2 separate regions of the Homo sapiens genome follow, and region 1 is linked to region 2. Evidence: promoter capture Hi-C in 16 types of primary human blood cells and fetal thymus (Javierre and others, 2016). All regions are on one chromosome and are shown on one strand. The core of a region is centred on a gene start or on the middle of the fragment in contact, and the rest is flanking DNA. Distances in the headings are between cores, read along the strand shown.

Region 1 (5,107 bases), core at 831-3,330, 430 kb before region 2:
TAAAACAAAATTTATTATTACTTCTCATGGTCTAAGCATAAACTGGGCTCAAGTAGGTAAGCTTCCCTTGGGCTCTCTTATGACGTTACATTCAGATGTGCACCGGGCTACAGTTATTTGATGGCTCAACTGGGCTGGATGTCCTGGGGTCTCACTCTCTGGCAGTTGAAGCCAGCTATTGGCTGGGAATTCACCAGAATTTGGTGGCTGACGCACCTACCGTGACACACCTCACTGTGTTGTTCAGGCTGCCCATGACGTGGTGTCCAGGCTCAGAGGAGGCACATCCCAACAGTCAGCATTCCAAACAGCAGGAATCAGAAGCTGCCAGAAGCCGCAGTTAGGGCTACACCAGGAACAGACACAGAGTCATTTCTACCACATTCTGTTAGCCAAATGATACCACTCAACCAACTCACACTTAAGAAAGTGATACAGGCTCCACCTCTTGATGAGGGAATGGCAAGCTCAGTTGCCAAAGGGTATATGAGATGAAAGATAGTGTTTATCCATCTTTGGAAAAACTACAAGGGTAGAGGAAGAGTGGTCTGGAGGCCTAATGTTGCTCTTCCTGCTCTGCTAATAATTTTACCAGCACCAATTCCCCATGTGAAATCTCTTTCTGCTTAAATTAGCCAGACTGGGATCTGTTGACTACACCTGGATCCTGATCAAGGCTGGAGGTGGGACTTTACTGTCCCCAGGCAAATAGCATTCCAATATATTACTCTGTATGTAACTGGCATAGAGCAGTGACGCTCCGGAGAGGAAAAGCATTTGGAGTTGGAAAGTCCCTTGCTGAGTTTCAAGTTTCCCATCTGGAAAATGGGGATGATAATAATAATAATTTGGCATCTACTTTATAGAGTTAAACAGATTAAATGAGTCAACACATGCGCAATATTGTCACGTGCCTAGCACCTGGAAGGCAATGCTTGATGAAGTCCGTTTTGCTTGTTTGCTCAGCTCAAGCCGGCTCCCTCTCTTTGGTAATCGCTCTATCTGCAGGCACAGTGAAGTTAAGTAACTGGCCCAAAGGCATACTGCTAAGAGAGGACATCTTAGGCCGGGTGTGGTGGCTCACGCCTGTAATCCCAGCACTTAGGCCGAGGCAGGTGGATCACCTGAGGTCAGGAGTTCAAGACCAGCCTGGCCAACATAGTGAAACCCCATCTCTACTAAAAATACAAAAATTAGCCGGGTGTGGTGCCACGCAACTGTAGTCCCAGCTATTGAGGAGGCTGAGGCAGGAGAATCGTTTGAACCCAGAAGGCTGAGCTTGCAGTGAGCTGAGATCACGCCACTTCACTCCAGGCTGGGTGACAGAGCAAGACTCCAGTCACTTAACTAACCCAAAGGCACACTTGACTCTAGAGAGCAAGGGGAGAGTAGCTAAGAATAGGGAAGATAAGACGCAAACCCGCATAGTCTAGCTTCATAGTTCATGCTCTCAATCCTTACACTGTACCACTTTTTAAAGCTGAGAACTGAAGGTGTTTACAAGTTAGCTAGGGGACATGTGGTTGCTGCCAAGGATGGAAATATAATGAAGATACGGTTGAGGTGAAAGTAAGTAAAGGAGTGTTCTAGAAGACAAAGAACAGCACATACCAAAGCTCCAAGGAGGAAAAGACATTGGTGGAATTCAAGAAATTCCTTCAGAGAAGGCTAAAGCGGTGAGAATGCTTTTCTCCCCTCTTTCACATCATGGCACACCTAGAAAATGACACTATTTGTATAGATCACTGGAATAAATGCAGAAGCTGTTTGTGGCTGGAGACACCCGGCCCAGGAGTTGTGGGTCTCAGTCATAGGCATATCTGGAACCCACTTATAGGAAATCTTGTCTAGAAAGTAGAGAGCAAGGGGAAAGTTGACACAGAGACTGGAAAGGTGAGACAGACCCAAGACAGGCACAACCCCCTGGGCCATAAGAAGGATTTGAATGCGAGTTTGAGTGTATTGGGAGGCCACTGGAGGATTTAACTGGGAGAGAAGCCATGAGATCCAATTTGCTTTGTGTCTTTTGGAGAACACTAACTGCTGTGAGGTCAAAGGATCAATGGATGAGAGGACAGGTGTGGAAGTGGGAGGGAGGGGACAGGTAAGAGGCTGTTGCAGTAGTCTTGGAAAAAGAAATGAGGACAGCATAGGCTAGGTGGATGACAGTGGAGGTGGAAAGAAATACATGGATTTCAGGTATCTTTTTTTTTTTTTTGCAATTTCTTCCTCCTAGTTCAAGTGATTCTCCAGCCTCAGCCTCCCAGTGGCTGGGATTACAGGTGCCTGCCACCACGTCTGGCTAATTTTTTGTATTTTTAGTAGAGACTGGGTTTCACCATGTTGGTCAGACTGGTCTTGAACTCCTGACTCAGATGATCCACTCACCTTGGCCTTCCAAAGTGCTGGGATAACTGGTGTGAGCCACCGCACCTGGCCGGATTTCAGGTATCTTTTAGAGCTTGTATCTCCCAGGCCTAGAGATGGTTTGGGTGTAAAAGGTGAAGGAGAAAGGATAGTAATGTTTCTTCTCTCACAGTGTTCTCATGAGAAATTAAATTTAATTTTGTCCAGGTTCCTCAAAAAAGCTAAACATAGAATTATTATATAGTCCAGCTTTTCCAAAAGAATTCACAGCAGGAATGCAAACACACACTTGTATATCAATGTTCATAGCAGCACTATTCCCAATAGCCAAAAGGTGGAAACAACCCAAATCTCCATCAACAGATGAATGGGTAAACAAACTGTGGCCTGTCCATACAATGGAATATTATTCAGCCATAAAAAGGAACGAAGTTCTGATGAATGTTTACAACATGAATGGGCCTTGACAACATGTTAAGTGAAATAAGCCAGTCCAATATATTACAAATATTGTATGATTCCACTTAGGTTGGGTACTAAAGTCATAGGGACAGGAAGTATAGTAGAGGTTGCCAGGGATGTAGGGAAGTGGGGAGCATTATTTAATGGGTACAGAGTTTCTGTTTGCGATGATGGATACGCTGGAAATAATGGTGATTGTTGCAGGGCACTGTGAATGGATGCAATGCCACTGAACTGTACACTGAAAAATTGTTAAAATAGTCAATTTCATTTACACAAATATTACCATAATGAAAAAATTGATCATTTACATAGAGTGATTAGCACATATCTGACCCACTGCAGTTTTAGATCAATGGTTATAACTATTGTTTTCATATGTCTAGCCTAGCCTCTCTTTTTTCAGAGAGGAATCTCCCTTACTCTTAAGGCTGAGAGCTTTGAATTTTTTAGTCTGTCTGCCCTGAAGCACTTCTTGACATCCTGAGTCCTTCTTCGTCATACTTGGCTCTCCTGTGGACACTGTCATTCATACACCTGCAAATCACAGTCCACTCCATAGGACAAGGTCCCCTCCTCATTGGAACCAGAGAGAAGAGAGCACAGGGAAGCCTCCATCCCTTGCAATCTTGCCCTCTTGATTCTCTAAGGCTAGATCACTAGGCTTCAGGGATGGGATAATCTCAGAGCGAACTTATTATAGGGGAGAGGAAAAGTGAAAGAACAGGGTAACTCAAGTTTTCCTGGAGTCTCCAGTGGAAAGAACTCCAAACTGAAGTTCTTCACAAGAACAGGATCCACCACTCCTGTCCTGCCCCCACTGTATACTGGGCTGACCCAGCCTGCTGCTCTCAAGCCAGCTCCCTAAGGGATTCCTTCTTCAAGTCTCTGAGTCTCTACCCACCAATGACTGGTCTTTGTATGGACAGGGTTATTGTCTGAGTCATTCTCTCTGGAGTGGTACCCCAGTTGTGAGTGATACCTGTTGCCACTCAAGTCTCACAGAATAGCTGGATCCCCTGGACAGGAGTGGACCTGGAGCCTCTGGTCTAAGTTATTTTACTGGAAGCTCCAGGGAGGGCTGTAGGGATGCTGGTTCCGGTAATGAACTAACCTGCTACATTAAGCACAGTCTTATCTCTCAACCAGAATGGGACATTTCATGTTCCATACAGTTTACATATATACAGAAAAACAAAATATTCCCTAGAATCACAAGACATCTTATTCCTACTCCAGCGTCTCCAGCCCTGAACAACTTTGAAGCTTATTTCCAGTTCCTCTGAAGGATATACCTGGATAATGAAAGTCACCCATTTAGTGGCAGCCACCCAGAACAAACTCCAGGCTTGATCATCTTTTTTCATTTATTTCTGAAGACTCCCTGGGATGAGATAGAGTTGCCAGTTTTTTCTTATACTATTGTTATTGTTATCACAGACCAAGGAAAGGAAAGTTTATTCAGTAAGTGCTATTGAAACAACTGGTCAATTATTTGGAGGAAAAAACCCCTAGATCCTTGCCTTATACCTAACACAACACCAAAATAAATTTCAAATGGATTAAAGATTTGAGTTTTAAAAGAAAGAGGAACTATATGAACTAAAAGAAGGAATTTAAGCTCCTAAAAGGCATTCAATCAGCAGTAGACAGCCTCAATTTACTTCTCATCAAAATATCCACAAACGCACCCATATAGAAAAAGACAAAAACTGTTAATACTAAAAGATGAAGGCTGACAAGTAAATGCGAAAATATAGTAGAAATTTCTACTGCCATTATTTCTCTCCTCCTCTTCTCTTCTCTTCTCTTCTCTTCTCTTCTCTTCTCTTCTCTTCTCTTTTCTTTCTGAGACAGGAGCTCACTCTGTTACCCAGGCTGAAGTACAGTGGTGCAATCATGGCTCATTTCAGCCTCGAGCTTCTGGGTTCAAGTGATCATCCCACCTCAGCCACCCGAGTAGCTCGGACTACAGGCATGTGCCACCATGCCTGGCTAATTTTTGTAGATACAGAGTTTCACTATGTTGCCCAGGCTGGTCCTGAACTCCAGGGCACAATCAATACACCCACCTCAGCCTCCCAAAGTGCTGGGATTACAGTTGTGAGCCATTGTGGCCAGCCTACTGCCATGATGTCTACTGCCATGATTTCATGGCAGGTGCAGCTGGTCCAGCATGGATGGGTTGCTCTTGCCTTCATGATAGAGTGATCTACCGATAAAAAGGTATGAGGAAGCTTTGGCTATCTCTCTCGGTATTTTTTTGAGACAGATTGAG
Region 2 (4,553 bases), core at 1,574-4,073:
ATTGTCTTCTTCCCTCACATCTCCAGAGAGACTTCAGGAGTGCTAGGTTCTGGGGGCAGGCTTGTGATCTCCTCAGGGTCCCCTGAGAACTCCAGGAAAGTGATGAGAGAGTCAGGGTTTGCAGAATTCAGAAGAGTAGGCACTAGACCAAAGCATAGCATAAAACCATTTACCGATGTGGCCATAAGTCCCCCCACCCAACTCCCTCTGTCTCTTAATTGGCTCTCTCTCTCACACACACATACACACACACACACACACACACACACACACACAAACAAACACACGCTGTTAGCAAATCTGTCCTGACAACATCATACAGTCATCCCTCAGTATCCTCAGAGAATTGGTTTCAGGACCCCCTTGGATACCAAAATCAAAGGATGCTCAAGTCCCTATAAAATAGCATGGTATTTGCATATAACCTACTCACATCCTCCCACATACATTAATCATTTTCAGATTATTTATAATACCTAATACACTGTAAATGCGACGTAAACAGTTGATTATACTGTATTATTTAGGGAATGGTGACAAGAAAAAGTCTGTACATGTTCAGTACAGACTCAGCTATCTATTATTTTTTCCAATAGTTTCAATCCAAGATTGACTGAAGGCGTGGATATGGAACCCATGAATAGGGAGGGCAGACTGTATTAGGTGCACATTCATGAGAATAATCAACAGCTCCCCAGATACACAGGACAAACTCAATTCTTCAATAACTGAAGAGGCACAAGTGAGTATTTGTGTGTATTCTTATATGCTCAAGAGAATTCCCAAAGATTTGCCTAGATCTTTCTTGGAAAATCGACTTGGCCTCTGCTGGGATTACTCAACCGCACTTGGAAAAGGGTACCCCAGTGTTAGCAGCTACTGGCTCCATGTTTGGAAAGCAAGTCCTTTCATGGAGTTCAGCTGTTCCTCAGGCATCCAGTAAAGCTGGTTGTGCAAAGGCAGAAAATGTGACAACTGTTGGAAGCCTTCAGCAGCAGCCAATGGGAACAGCCACTGCATCAACAGTTAAAGCAGCCTATTATCCAGTTCACACAAAACACCCACCAGCTACATGGCACCATTAACTCAATATCACCATTCTTATCAAGTTCATGACACACTGGCCATGCTGCCTTGCCACCAACTTTAGAAACCACAAATAACTTCACAAACCATCAAAATACACATGCACAGGGGGAAAGAGAAAGAAGAAAAAAACAACCTTTCTGAGTTCAGAGCACCACGTTCAAAGATTACCTAATAGGCAAACCATGGCATTTCAATATTGCCAGCAAACATCTCTCTCACTTCAGTGGTGAAGTCTCCAAGACATTTCAGATTTGAGGCGTTTGAGAAAGAGGGTCTCAGAGCCTTGGAGACCATGTCAAATGCTTCTAAAAAAGGAAGGGTCTGTGTGCATTTTCCCAATGAAGAATCTGTCCAAAAAGGTTTTGGAAAACGCTTTAATATACTTTGGTTCCAAAACATTACACACTATTTCTCCAACAAATTTATATGTGTTTCCAGAGAACTTCCGAACTGAAAAACACAAATGTATTTAGGTGGAAGAATGTCTGGAGATTCTTTTATGCCAATATGTTAACGGACCTTCTTTTTTAATTGTTACTATTTCATACGGCAGCAGTAATCATTCCCTCATCCTCGAAGGAAATATATAATCCAGCTGTGGTGGCTCCAGTAAAAATACCACATCTGTGGATCATTGGCAACACTGTGTTAAGATTGCTCAAATCTAGGCAGTCTCAGAGAGTTCTTTTTTAAACCCAAGATGCACATGGGTACACTTTTCTGAAAGTGCCTACGAACTTTGCCAAAACTGACTACTCCTTTGTAGGCTGAAAATAGGTTTTCAGATACTCCACACCATAAGAAGGAGGCTCTCATGGAATATTATAACCAGGACCCAGTTGTATGAAGTCCCCAGACCTCCAGGGTGGTGGCTTGTGCCAGTGCCCTTGTCAATATCAAACAGAGAAGGGAAAACTAACATTCCCGGTTTCTGGGAGGAGGTTCTACCGCGTGGCTGGCTGAGTCGCTGACTCCTGGTTTTCCACTTAACAGGAGGACAGCTTCCGCAGAGAGGATGGCAGCCACCGTTCAGGTCACCCTTCTCTTGGTTCTCCAGGCTATGAAGCCAACGTATGCCTGAGCATTCGGTCATAATATTCCTGGAGTCGTCCCCCCACCCCAAGCCTCTGTTTAGTCCTTCCCCAAAGCCCAGCAGCAAGCATCTTTTTTTAAGCCAATCTTCCACATTCAAATCCTCAGTCCAAAGCGCGCCCTTGGGGGTCTCCATCTATAGACATAGAAAAGAAAAGGCAGCCTAGCTGAGCCCTGACAGAGTTTTAGCCCCTGGAACATATGACCTGCGGCTACTGTGCTGGCATGCCGCTTGCCCCGAAACCCTCGGGGGCCCCCTTCCACCCCAGACAATAGAGCAAGAAAATAAAATGAAAGTGGACTTACTGCTATGGCTTGCAGCCTTTCCTTGTGCAATTCCGCCTCTGCCATCCTGGAGAAGGGCACACAGGCAGGGGAAAGAGGAAAGAAAAAACACACGCTGTAGTCACCCAAGGAAACTGATGGGCACCCCGGGGGGCTTTGCTAGAACCCGGGAGAACGCCCAGGGACGGCTGGGGATCCGCTCCAGGGGCGGCGGGCAGAGCTGTGCGCACGGCGGGCTCGCCCGGGCTCAGCCTCTGGCCCCCGCCCTCCCGGCCGCCTGGCTGCGCCCCAGCGCCGCCGCTCACTGCATCTCCCGGTCGCCGCCGCCGCCGGCCGCGCCAGCCGAGGACGTGGGACGCCGGCAGCCGCCGGGAGGGCGCGCTAGCCCGGCGCTAGTTCTCCGCCCTGACGTCTCGGTGCCTCGCTCCGCCCCTGGAGTGTGATGGACCCGAGGCCGCGGTCCAAGGCGGCTCCGAGCGATCGCCGCCGCGGGTCTCCAAGGCGCAGACGGAGGGCGCGCGAGCCAGTGGGCACCTGGGGCGCGGGCGCACGGCGAGCCGCTGGGGCGCACGGCTGGCGTGGCGCGCCCGCGTGGACACGCGCTTGCTGGGGCGGAGGCAGAGCGCAGTGGCGCCTCCACCGGGCAGATGCCAGTGGAGAGGGGCGTCTGACCGAATGTGGGACCCGAGCACGTGCTGTTACGTGGGGGCTGGGGCCACCGAGTGTTCAGGGCACCTTCTGGCTCAAGCCAGACGCTTGAGCTCCACGTGGGGACATTTACAATTTGGGAAGGGCTGCCTTGCCCAAGTGGCCCACATGCTTAAGATGACCAAGTTCTCAATATCAAGTCGGCCGAGGGTAGGGTATATCTCCAGAGAGGCCACCCTTCTGGTGAGGCGATATGTGGCCTTAAAAGAAGCCGAGAGTTTTTAGTCCTGGGTGCTAGACTAGATTTCACAATGTGTTAGCTGTGAAATCTCAGGCAACTCGCTTAATCACTCTGAACCTCAGTTTCCTCATCTGAAAAAATGGAGGATCACATAGGTGTCATTAGAGACGAATGAGAGACAGTATGTAAAGGTGCTTTGTAAAGGGCATCACAGACATCTGCTCTTATTATCCTGTGACATTCTGGATTGAAATCCTTTCAGGGTCTTCTGTTCATTGCATCTGAAAGGAAAAGTAGGATCTACTCACTAAAATATTTCACCTATTCTTTACTAAAACAGGATACCATGTGGTACTAATGTGAGTCTTTTGTGACAGGTCCTGGACTGGATGTAAGAAGTGGATCAGGCCCAGTCCAAAAGGAGATCAATGCCAAAAGCAAAAAAAAATGCCTCTTCACATTGAGGCAGGACCTGCTAGAATTCCCAACATTCATATGCAAACGTTTCTTCATCAAATGAAATAAACACTGAAATAACTAATATGGCCTCTTTAGAGCCATAGGATTTAAAGGCATGTTAAAAGATATACACATCAGGCCAGATGCGGTGGCTCACACCTGTAATCCCAGCACTTTGGGAGGCCAAGGCGGGTGGATCACCTAAGGTCAGGAGTTCGAGACCAGCCTGGCCAACATGGTGAAACCCCTTCTCTACTAAAAATACAAAAAATTAGCCGGGCGTGGTGGCAGGCACCTGTAATCCCAGCTACTTGGGAAGCCGAGGCAGGAGAATCACTGGAACCTGGGAGGCAGAGGTTGCAGTGAGCCGAGATCACATCATTGCACTCCAGCCTGGGCAACAAGAGTGAAACTCTGTCTCAAAAAAAAAAAAAAAAATGCACATCAAATTTTCCCAGATCACCTGTTTCCTGAATAAATGCTTCCATTTCAACTAAATTGCCCTTTCAATTTTCACAGAGGTTCACCTGTCACTGATGAACAATTACTCCTCTGACCAAAGATGGAAGCACTCACCAAAATCGTTTACTGATGGATTGTTTTCCCATCTTTTTCATAACAAGTGTAGGTGGAGCTGATTGTTTAATAAATCCAAGCCAGTGCCAGATTCTACATCCCACTCCAATATATCAGAAACTTCTACTTTCTGGCTAAGCCCATCCTTTTCTTCAAATGCATC

Evidence for each region. The method cuts DNA at HindIII sites, captures the fragments that hold promoters and counts their contacts. A CHiCAGO score of 5 or more calls a contact.
Region 1: a fragment that was not itself captured here is called in contact with the fragment with the promoter of PALM2AKAP2 in region 2 in 1 of 17 cell types (naive B cells); the score reaches 5.5 in naive B cells.

Annotation. Positions count from the first base shown.
Region 1 is chr9:110,209,457-110,214,563 of GRCh38, reverse strand. No RefSeq gene overlaps it. Among named protein-coding and RNA genes, the nearest start is that of C9orf152, 3.9 kb to the right of the region's middle. The HindIII fragment of the contact is 4,034 bases long and covers 64-4,097 here.
Region 2 is chr9:109,778,468-109,783,020 of GRCh38, reverse strand. It overlaps PALM2AKAP2 (PALM2 and AKAP2 fusion), which reads right to left and starts at 2,823. Exons shown (of 11, transcript NM_007203.5): 1 at 2,488-2,823. The coding sequence starts at 2,532. The HindIII fragment of the contact is 7,761 bases long and covers 1-4,553 here.